Regions from separate parts of the Homo sapiens genome. Here region 2 is linked to region 1. Evidence: promoter capture Hi-C in 16 types of primary human blood cells and fetal thymus (Javierre and others, 2016). All regions are on one chromosome and are shown on one strand. The core of a region is centred on a gene start or on the middle of the fragment in contact, and the rest is flanking DNA. Distances in the headings are between cores, read along the strand shown. Region 1 holds the start of APP (amyloid beta precursor protein). Region 2 has its middle 110 kb from the start of CYYR1.

Region 1 (4,464 bases), core at 882-3,381:
CTGGAGAGTCTCACAGGCCCTGCGGTGGGAGGAGCCCCATGCTTGGTTTAACGCTCTGCCATTGCCATCTTAAAATTCTTAATTTAATTTTTTTTCTTTTTTTTGAGGTGGAGTCTCGCTCTGTCGCCCAGGCTGGAGTGCAATGGCACAATCTTGGCTCACTGCAACCTCCGCCTCCCAGGTTCAAGCGATTCTCCTGCCTCAGCCTCTGGAGTAGCTGGGATTACAGGCAGGAGTAACCACGCTCGGCTAATTTTTGCATTTTTAGTAGAGATGGGGGTTTCACCATGTTGGCCAGGCTGGTCTAGAACTCCTGACCTCAGGTGATCTGCCCACCTGGGCCTCCTAAAGTGCTGGGATTACAGGCATGAGCCACCAGGCCCGGCCTTAAAATTCTTAATAATGTAACAAAGGGTCTCACGTTTGCATTTTGCAGTGGACTCTGCAAGATTTGTAGCTTTGGACCACGTTTCTCTTTGCATTCAGATACCTTCTTTTTTGCCTTATTTGCTCATGCAGACCCGGAACAAATACGGAATTGCGGTGGGTAAATGTGGTGCAGAAAGTGAACAACTGGGTTTGTCCTGTCACTTTAGGCTTTTCCCTGCTGTCCCAGCTTCATGTCACTTACTTGCTATTAGATTTGGGAGTTCATTAGCTTCATTTTCCTGATGTATAAATAGGAATAATAGTAACAGCCTCTTTGGCTTTTGTAGGAAGTAAATGACATGAAGCGTATAAACAAATACTGCATGACAATAAATATTTGTCCTTATTTGTTGAGGACATCCAAAGGACATTCAGGGGCAAAAGTAATCCAAGAGTCAAGACTGAATGCCTAGTGCGGGAAAAGACACACAAGACAACATTTAGGGGAGCTGGTACAGAAATGACTTCCCAGGAAGGAAGTCTGTACCCCGCTGGCTGAGCCATCCTTCCCGGGCCTAGGCACCCTTGTCAGCGCAATGAGCAAGGGAGAGAAGGCAGGCTGCAGTGCAGCCCTCAGAAGGGCCAGAGCACTCCCTGGCTTCAGTCCTTCGCTCCAAGCCCTGTGTGGAGTGGGCTGTGGCTTGGTAACTAAATGCTACTTCAGGTCAAGAGCAGGGGATATATCTGGGCAGTTCTAGAGCATTCTAAACTATCTGGACACTAACTGGACAGTGGACGGTTTGTGTTTAATCCAGGAGAAAGTGGCATGGCAGAAGGTTCATTTCTATAATTCAGGACAGACACAATGAAGAACAAGGGCAGCGTTTGAGGTCAGAAGTCCTCATTTACGGGGGTCGAATACGAATGATCTCTCCTAATTTTTCCTTCTTCCCCAACTCAGATGGATGTTACATCCCTGCTTAACAACAAAAAAAGACCCCCCGCCCCGCAAAATCCACACTGACCACCCCCTTTAACAAAACAAAACCAAAAACAAACAAAAATATAAGAAAGAAACAAAACCCAAGCCCAGAACCCTGCTTTCAAGAAGAAGTAAATGGGTTGGCCGCTTCTTTGCCAGGTCCTGCGCCTTGCTCCTTTGGTTCGTTCTAAAGATAGAAATTCCAGGTTGCTCGTGCCTGCTTTTGACGTTGGGGGTTAAAAAATGAGGTTTTGCTGTCTCAACAAGCAAAGAAAATCCTATTTCCTTTAAGCTTCACTCGTTCTCATTCTCTTCCAGAAACGCCTGCCCCACCTCTCCAAACCGAGAGAAAAAACGAAATGCGGATAAAAACGCACCCTAGCAGCAGTCCTTTATACGACACCCCCGGGAGGCCTGCGGGGTCGGATGATTCAAGCTCACGGGGACGAGCAGGAGCGCTCTCGACTTTTCTAGAGCCTCAGCGTCCTAGGACTCACCTTTCCCTGATCCTGCACCGTCCCTCTCCTGGCCCCAGACTCTCCCTCCCACTGTTCACGAAGCCCAGGTGGGCCGTCGGCCGGGGAGCGGAGGGGGCGCGTGGGGTGCAGGCGGCGCCAAGGGCGCGTGCACCTGTGGGCGCGGGGCGCGAGGGCCCCTCCCGGCGCGAGCGGGCGCAGTTCCCCGGCGGCGCCGCTAGGGGTCTCTCTCGGGTGCCGAGCGGGGTGGGCCGGATCAGCTGACTCGCCTGGCTCTGAGCCCCGCCGCCGCGCTCGGGCTCCGTCAGTTTCCTCGGCAGCGGTAGGCGAGAGCACGCGGAGGAGCGTGCGCGGGGGCCCCGGGAGACGGCGGCGGTGGCGGCGCGGGCAGAGCAAGGACGCGGCGGATCCCACTCGCACAGCAGCGCACTCGGTGCCCCGCGCAGGGTCGCGATGCTGCCCGGTTTGGCACTGCTCCTGCTGGCCGCCTGGACGGCTCGGGCGCTGGAGGTGGGTGCCGCGCCTCGGAAGGCGGGGGGAGGCTGCACGGTGGGGACGCGATACCCCCCAAGACCTTAACCCAAGTCTTTAATGCAGAGAAGCCGGGGGTCCGTCAATGGGACCCCTCTCCTCTCCGCCCCCGCTTGCGGACGTCCAGCGCATCCCCGCTTTCGGCCCAGCCCTGCCCCAGGGAGTCGCGCTCCGGCCCGCTGAGAGGGAGCGGGCGAGGCGCTGGTCTCCCTGGTTCCGCGCCAGCCCGGGGCGAGAAGGGTAGGGGGCGACCCTGAGCCCAGACCCCGACTTAGTCCCTGCCTTGGAAGCGGGGGTCGGGGGAGGCGAGAGACATTCAGACAGGGGGGAAGGGGGAAGGAGCACGTGGGGAAAACCGAAAACGCAGCGTCCCTAAAGCCAGTCCTTCGCTCTTGAATCGTTGCCCTTTCCTTTCTCTTGGGCCCTGGGGAGGAGGAGGAGGAGTCGGGACAGCCCAGGAAGCTAGGAGCCCCTCGCTTTTCCCTGCGTTCTCCGCCTCGTTTCACCTTCCTCTCTCACCCCCATCCCCCTTCCTTGCTCCAACCTCTTTTCGCGGCTGCTGGCGGCGGCAGCCTGGGTGCGACCCTAGCCCGAGCCGGCGTCGGGGTCGCGCACCGCCTTCCACAGGCAAACTTTGTGCATGTCCGCGTCTCCCTTTTGTGTAACTTGCGAGAAATGGGAGGGGTCGGAGACCCATAGCCACCCCGCGCCTTCCCCAAGTCTGGACGTCCCGGGAGTTCGCTCGCACCCTAAGCTCTGTCTGAGAGGCAGAAGGTCCGCGGGAACAAAAGCCGCGACACCCCGCCCTCGCCGTGGGCCGAGCCGCGTTAGTCTCAGTGCGCCACCGAGGCTCCCGCCCGGCTCCCTTCCCGGGGCTGCGCGTCCGCCTGGGAGGGGGCAGAGACGCTGCCGGGGCTTCTGGCGGAGCCTCGGGGCCCCTCTGCTTCCCACCCTCGGATCACCTCCGAGGCTTAATTCTGTGCTGGGCTGTAAAGTCCTTGGCGGGGAGGAAATAAGGCGGAGAGTGGGATGTGCGTCTGGAAAGGGCAGTGGCGGATGGTGGGGAGGCACGGGCTCTGTCCTGTGCATCCAAGGAGGCGTTTGTCTGATTAAGGCGCGGCCTCTTCCCTGGCAGCTCTGGGGACTCTGGTTTAGTTCCCCTGGGGGCACAGGATGCTGGGGAGGGTCCGAAGGGTCTTTTTTTTAGGGTGCAGATAAAAGGATCGAATTGAGTGAAGATTAAGACGGAGAAGATGGCGCCTCTGCAGTGCAGCAAAGAAAAGCTGTGTGGAGGCTGCAGCCTAGTGAAATCCACCCACCACTAGGTGTATAACAAGTCTTCCCCATTCATCCAACTCTCGAACATTCAGCTAACGCCTGTGCACAATGACTGTTTTTCTTTACATCTGAAGATGCTTAGAAGTTGTTTGCATGACAGTTGGGCCAGAGGAGGCTGTATTTCACTTCGGACTTCGGTTGGGTTCCTGTTTGGCATCTTAACATTTGCAACCTTCCTTACCCGTTTTTCCCCTCTTTTCCCCCAGCCTCCTAGTAATTTTCCAAAAGAAAAAAAGCAATTTCCGGGCAGATGTTTTCCTGTAATTCCACTGAGGCTGTACAGACTATCACACCATTAGTTTTTTAGTTTCTAATTTGCAAGGTCATTGAACTTTTTTCTCTTCTGATTTTTACCCACAAGTGGCTCAGGAATCACCTTAGGGCTAGTTAAGACAGGTTGTTTTAAGAGTTAAAGAATTTCGTTTTCCATGTTTTAAAAAAATGCACTTAACTAAGAGAATTCTGATTTCTCTCATGACTTACTTACATTTATTTGTAGAATTATTCCAGTTTTCCCGAATGGTCTTACTACAGATTAAAAACCATACATTTAAGGAATTAAAAGCATATGATAACCGTATTTTTGAAGCTTTTGTCAAAACTTAAATATGTAACTTTGTTGAGCAATATTTCTTTCTGTATAAAAAGAGGAAGCATGTAGGCAGATTCGAATTTAGTTTTTGGTCTGTTTAATTGCATTAATATGCTCTTTCTGCCATCTTTTGGGACCTTTTCAGTAGCTATTGTTAACTCCTTTAAAGGGTGGAG
Region 2 (4,464 bases), core at 520-3,019, 520 kb before region 1:
TTCAACAAAGGAACAAACAAAAAGTTTCAGTCATTTTATACATGAGTCCTGCCCAAAAGTTCAGATTCTTCATTCTCTTCTCAAATCTTTTTTCATATCCCTCCCTCCTCCAGGCAAAAATATACATGTGTGCTGTCATAAGTTGGAGAAACAGATATCCTTTCTGATACTCCATGCTGTAGAACACTGTCAATTGACTAATTTCGGATGCAGAAATTCCCCACCCTACTTTAAACACAAATAATGCCTTAAAGATTTTATGTTGATTGGGTGCAGTGGCTCACGCCTGTAATCCCAGCTGTTTGGGAGGCTCAGGCAGGAGGATCACTTGAGTTCAGGAGTTCGGGGCCAACCTGGCTAACATGGTGAAACCCCCTCTCTACTAAAAATACAAAAATTATCCAGGCGTGATGGCATGTACCTATAATTCCAGCTGCTCGGCAGGGGTGCTGAGGTGAGAATCACTTGAACCGGGGAGGCAGAAGCTGCAATGAGCTGAGATCATGCCATTGCACTCCAGCCTGGGCAACAGGGCAAGACTCTGTCTCAAAAAAATAAATTAATTAATTAAATAAATACATAAATAAGATTTTATGTTAGCTAAATTTTGCTCACAAGCTAGGAAAAGTAGATTTATATCAAAGGACAATGAAATCATGTAGATAACAAAATTGGAAGTATGATAGAGTTAGTCTAAAGCAATTCACTAATAATAAAGGAATAAACAAACTGTATGATGTAAAAGTAGCTTCATATAGATTCCTACTTAGGCGTGACATAAAGAGGGAAATAAGATGATAGCTTCAAATATTTTTGGATCTTAAACATAATTCAATCTACTTCCCACAATGTTAATATTATTCCTCCAATGCTTAAACTCCCTTACCATTTACTCCTAATTAAACTTTTTCTTTTTTATTACTCTTCAACTGCTCACTCATTAATTACCACAATCTACTTCCATAACCATCTCTCAGGAGAACATTGGCATGAGCCCACCTGCTTTTTGCTACATTAGCATTGCTGATAATGCAACTTTCTGATATTTTCTGAAGCTTAGTATAAGACATTTCTTTAAGCTATGTTTGGAATTATCTTACCTTGGTCAATGTGGAAGGGAAACAAGGATTACATGAATTGTATGCTCTGAATTTGATAAGACAGCTAAAGTGGTGACGTCATACTGTGCACAGCCTATCTCGAAAGTATTTCAGTTCCTAGTATTAATTTTATCTTCAATCAAATTAAAGCCATTGATAGCACACATGAACATGCACGCGTGCGCAAACATGCACACACACAAACACACACCAAAAATGAGTATCTTTTATGAATGAAAAGGACGATGAAATACAAAGCCCTGCTTTATTAGGACCACTGAAGAGCAGATTCTACATCTACATTAAAGGACTTAAAGGATGCTTCACTTTTTCCATATTTAGAGTTTGTTTTTCAGGATTCAATATTATCTGCCCAATATCCATTTTTTTTCCTCCCTCATTGTAATCGTAGAATCCCTGGGGTCCCTCCTCACTCCTACTGCCCCATCTAGCAACTACAATTCCCAGCCTTCCTTGCATCTGGTTGTGGTCACGTGGCTAATGGGGCATGAGAGGAAGTGACATGTGCACCTGCGAATCACTTCTTTGGAAAGGAAGCTGCTTACTTTCACTTCACATTCTGAAGTCAGGAAGAAGTAACAATTTAGGAGCTACTTATACTCAGAGATGAAATCTAGAGCCTCCTACCTGCCCTAGATATTCTGCCCAACACTGGACCAAATATGCAAGAGAAATACATTTATATCTTATTTAAGCCACTATAGTTTTGCAGCTTAGCTAAACCTGCACCTTAAATAATAAATATATCAAGCAGCAAAGAAACCTGTTTAACTATTAATAACCTTATGCAACCAAAACTTACGATGATAGAAATATAAGTTCTACTAAAAAACTAGTGTTCCAACCGCAGTGATCTAAGAAATGAGGAAGGGATAAACTGTAGCTTAGAATTTGTATATTTTCAAATATAATATGCTAAGGTTATCATTCAATTGTGTTGTTTATTCTATCCAGATTTTTAAATGGGCATATTTGTATTATTGTTTTCCTTTTTTTGATCTATTTTAATTTAATTGATATTATATATAACATTATATATATCTTATAGATAACATATATATAATAGAGTAACATATGTCTGTTATAAAGCATAACAAGATAATGAACACTCATGAGGCTTTTATCCAAGCAGATAACTAGAACCTTACTAATAACTTGCATCTACTATGTTTGTCCAAGTTGGTTGAATTTGGAAAACACAGATTCATCCAATACTTCTTTCACCAACCCAGTGGTTCTTAAGATCCTAATTTTAGAAAACAAATCAAGAGCATATTAGTATCACTTGTAAATCACACATGGAAATTAACCATAATACAGAGTTTGAAGCTAGTTATGAACCTTTCAGCATTCTAAGCTTTGTATTTCTTATCTTTAAACACTGTATGAATTCCTCCATCATAGACCTACAGCAGATTTTATATGAGATATTGCAGGTGGAGGACCACTTCTTAGAGCCCTCCTTTAGTGGGCATGTAGTCGTTGACTGGAAAAGAAGAAAATTGGAAAGAAAGAGGGGGGATTGCTGATAGTGGAAAAGAGGTAAAGACTTCCCAGCACAGTCAAAGTAGAGGGAATGTTGAGTGAAATGACCAGGGCTTCCTCAGGCATTCTTGTCCGTGAGTGAGTGAGCAGCTGAGTGTTGGGTGAGGGGCTGGTAAAGACAGAATATACTATCCTGTCATCTTTTACTCTACTATAATAAAATGTGATTAACTATCCTGATGCATATGAAATGCTTAGAATAGTGCTGGATACATAGGCAGCCTTATGTACACGTTTGCTAAAGCTGCTATGCTTGGGCAAGAATGTAGAGAAGCTACTCTGTCATACATACACGTTATTCCTTTAGATAAGGGACATTAACATGTAAAGTTCTCTCTTCATGTATTTACATTGAGTCATTAGAATTTAAGCCACTGGAATGTACGTATAGTAATTTACATTCTAGTGACTCAGTTTAAATAAAGGGTGAATATTACTTATTATGTTTACCAAGTTTGGAGTTTGTTGATGTATCCTCAGTGCCTCTGTGATCATGTCTCACACATAGTAGATGCTCGATCATATTTACTGAATAAATTTCTAAGAAATCAAAATTTCCCAAAAATTTACCCTATTAAAATCATGCAAGTTGCTCTCTCTTCTGAAATGATAAATGTATCAGTAGGCAGGAAGACAGCAGATTGCTAAATAAATTATTGTGAATCAGAATCTGTTGAATTTGAATAATGATCCCCAAATCTTGTTGCTGAACAGAATTATCTGAAAGAAATTCATAAATACAAATTTCTGGGGCCAACATTGGAGTCTCAATCAGCAGATACATATTTTTGTTTGTCTGTTTTACTTAGTTGAAGTCAAATTTTATTTGCAATTTAGTAATCTGCCATATAAATCATACCATAAATGACTGTTAAAATACCAATTTCACAAGCATACTTTTTCATGAATAAATAATACTCCATTGAATGAATGTCATAAATTACATCACTTTTTATTTTCATTGAACACAGGTTGCTTACATTCTTCCCATCACAGTAATATGTTTAAAAGTATTTGTATTTAAATGTTTAAAAATGTTTGTGTATTTAAAGATGTATTTGTTGACAAGAGGTAAATAGAAATTTTTAACAGTATGTTGTTGCTGAGGTATTTTCACTTGTTTTTTTTTCCCCAAGGTTTTTTCCAGCTTTATCAATATGTACTTCCCCATTTGTAAACTATCCAAGCAACTTCTAAGACCTGGCAGCAACTCCCTGGCACAATATGATGCAAGGAACACTCCCAGAGGAGAGAATGAAGCAAGTCACCTAAGCCTCCTGGGGATACATTTCATAAAATATTAGATCATGTCTTAGAAAAAAGATCAAGGGTGGCCCAGATCTTTGCTTTCCCTCGAGTGGCTTACGAGCTACAACTTTACCTCTGACTTGTCTATATATACACCCAAAAAAAATTCTGTTCTGGTTTTGCTTTCAAAACGTCTCAGGTTTTCCATTATTTTCCAAAATATGCTGGTTACCCAAATGTAGGACCTCAACTTCCTACTTTGAGTACTGAGGGATAGAATTCCTTAAAACAGTCTTGATTGATCTCTAGACTTACAAACTTCTTCCCCAGACAATCTATCCTGCTGCTAATGTTAAATTTTCAAAAAGGCAAAATTATGATTCTTGTTCAAATATGAAATGAACAAGGATTAAAGTGAGGGAATTAATGGCTGAGACAATCAGTAAGATGTTAAAAGCAGTTCAAGAGAGAACAGAATATATACATATAAATGTATATGTATGGGTATATGTGTGTGTGCTGTGTATATAAAATCAGGAATGCTGAACTG

The links. Contacts are between HindIII fragments. The CHiCAGO score rates a contact against its expected background, and 5 or more counts as called.
Region 2: a contact is called between a fragment that was not itself captured here and the fragment with the promoter of APP in region 1, in 4 of 17 cell types (total B cells, fetal thymus, naive CD4 T cells and 1 more). The highest score is 9.2, in total B cells.

The regions. Positions count from the first base shown.
Region 1 is chr21:26,168,437-26,172,900 of GRCh38, reverse strand. APP (amyloid beta precursor protein) reads left to right here and starts at 2,131. Exons shown (of 18, transcript NM_000484.4): 1 at 2,131-2,337. The coding sequence starts at 2,281. APP-DT (APP divergent transcript) reads right to left here and starts at 2,034. Exons shown (of 4, transcript NR_186396.1): 1 at 1,849-2,034. RefSeq lists silencers at 1,779-2,608, 3,109-3,378 and enhancers at 2,396-2,920, 3,419-3,628. The HindIII fragment of the contact is 2,642 bases long and covers 1,646-4,287 here.
Region 2 is chr21:26,683,618-26,688,081 of GRCh38, reverse strand. No RefSeq gene overlaps it. Among named protein-coding and RNA genes, the nearest start is that of CYYR1, 110 kb to the right of the region's middle. The HindIII fragment of the contact is 1,423 bases long and covers 1,058-2,480 here.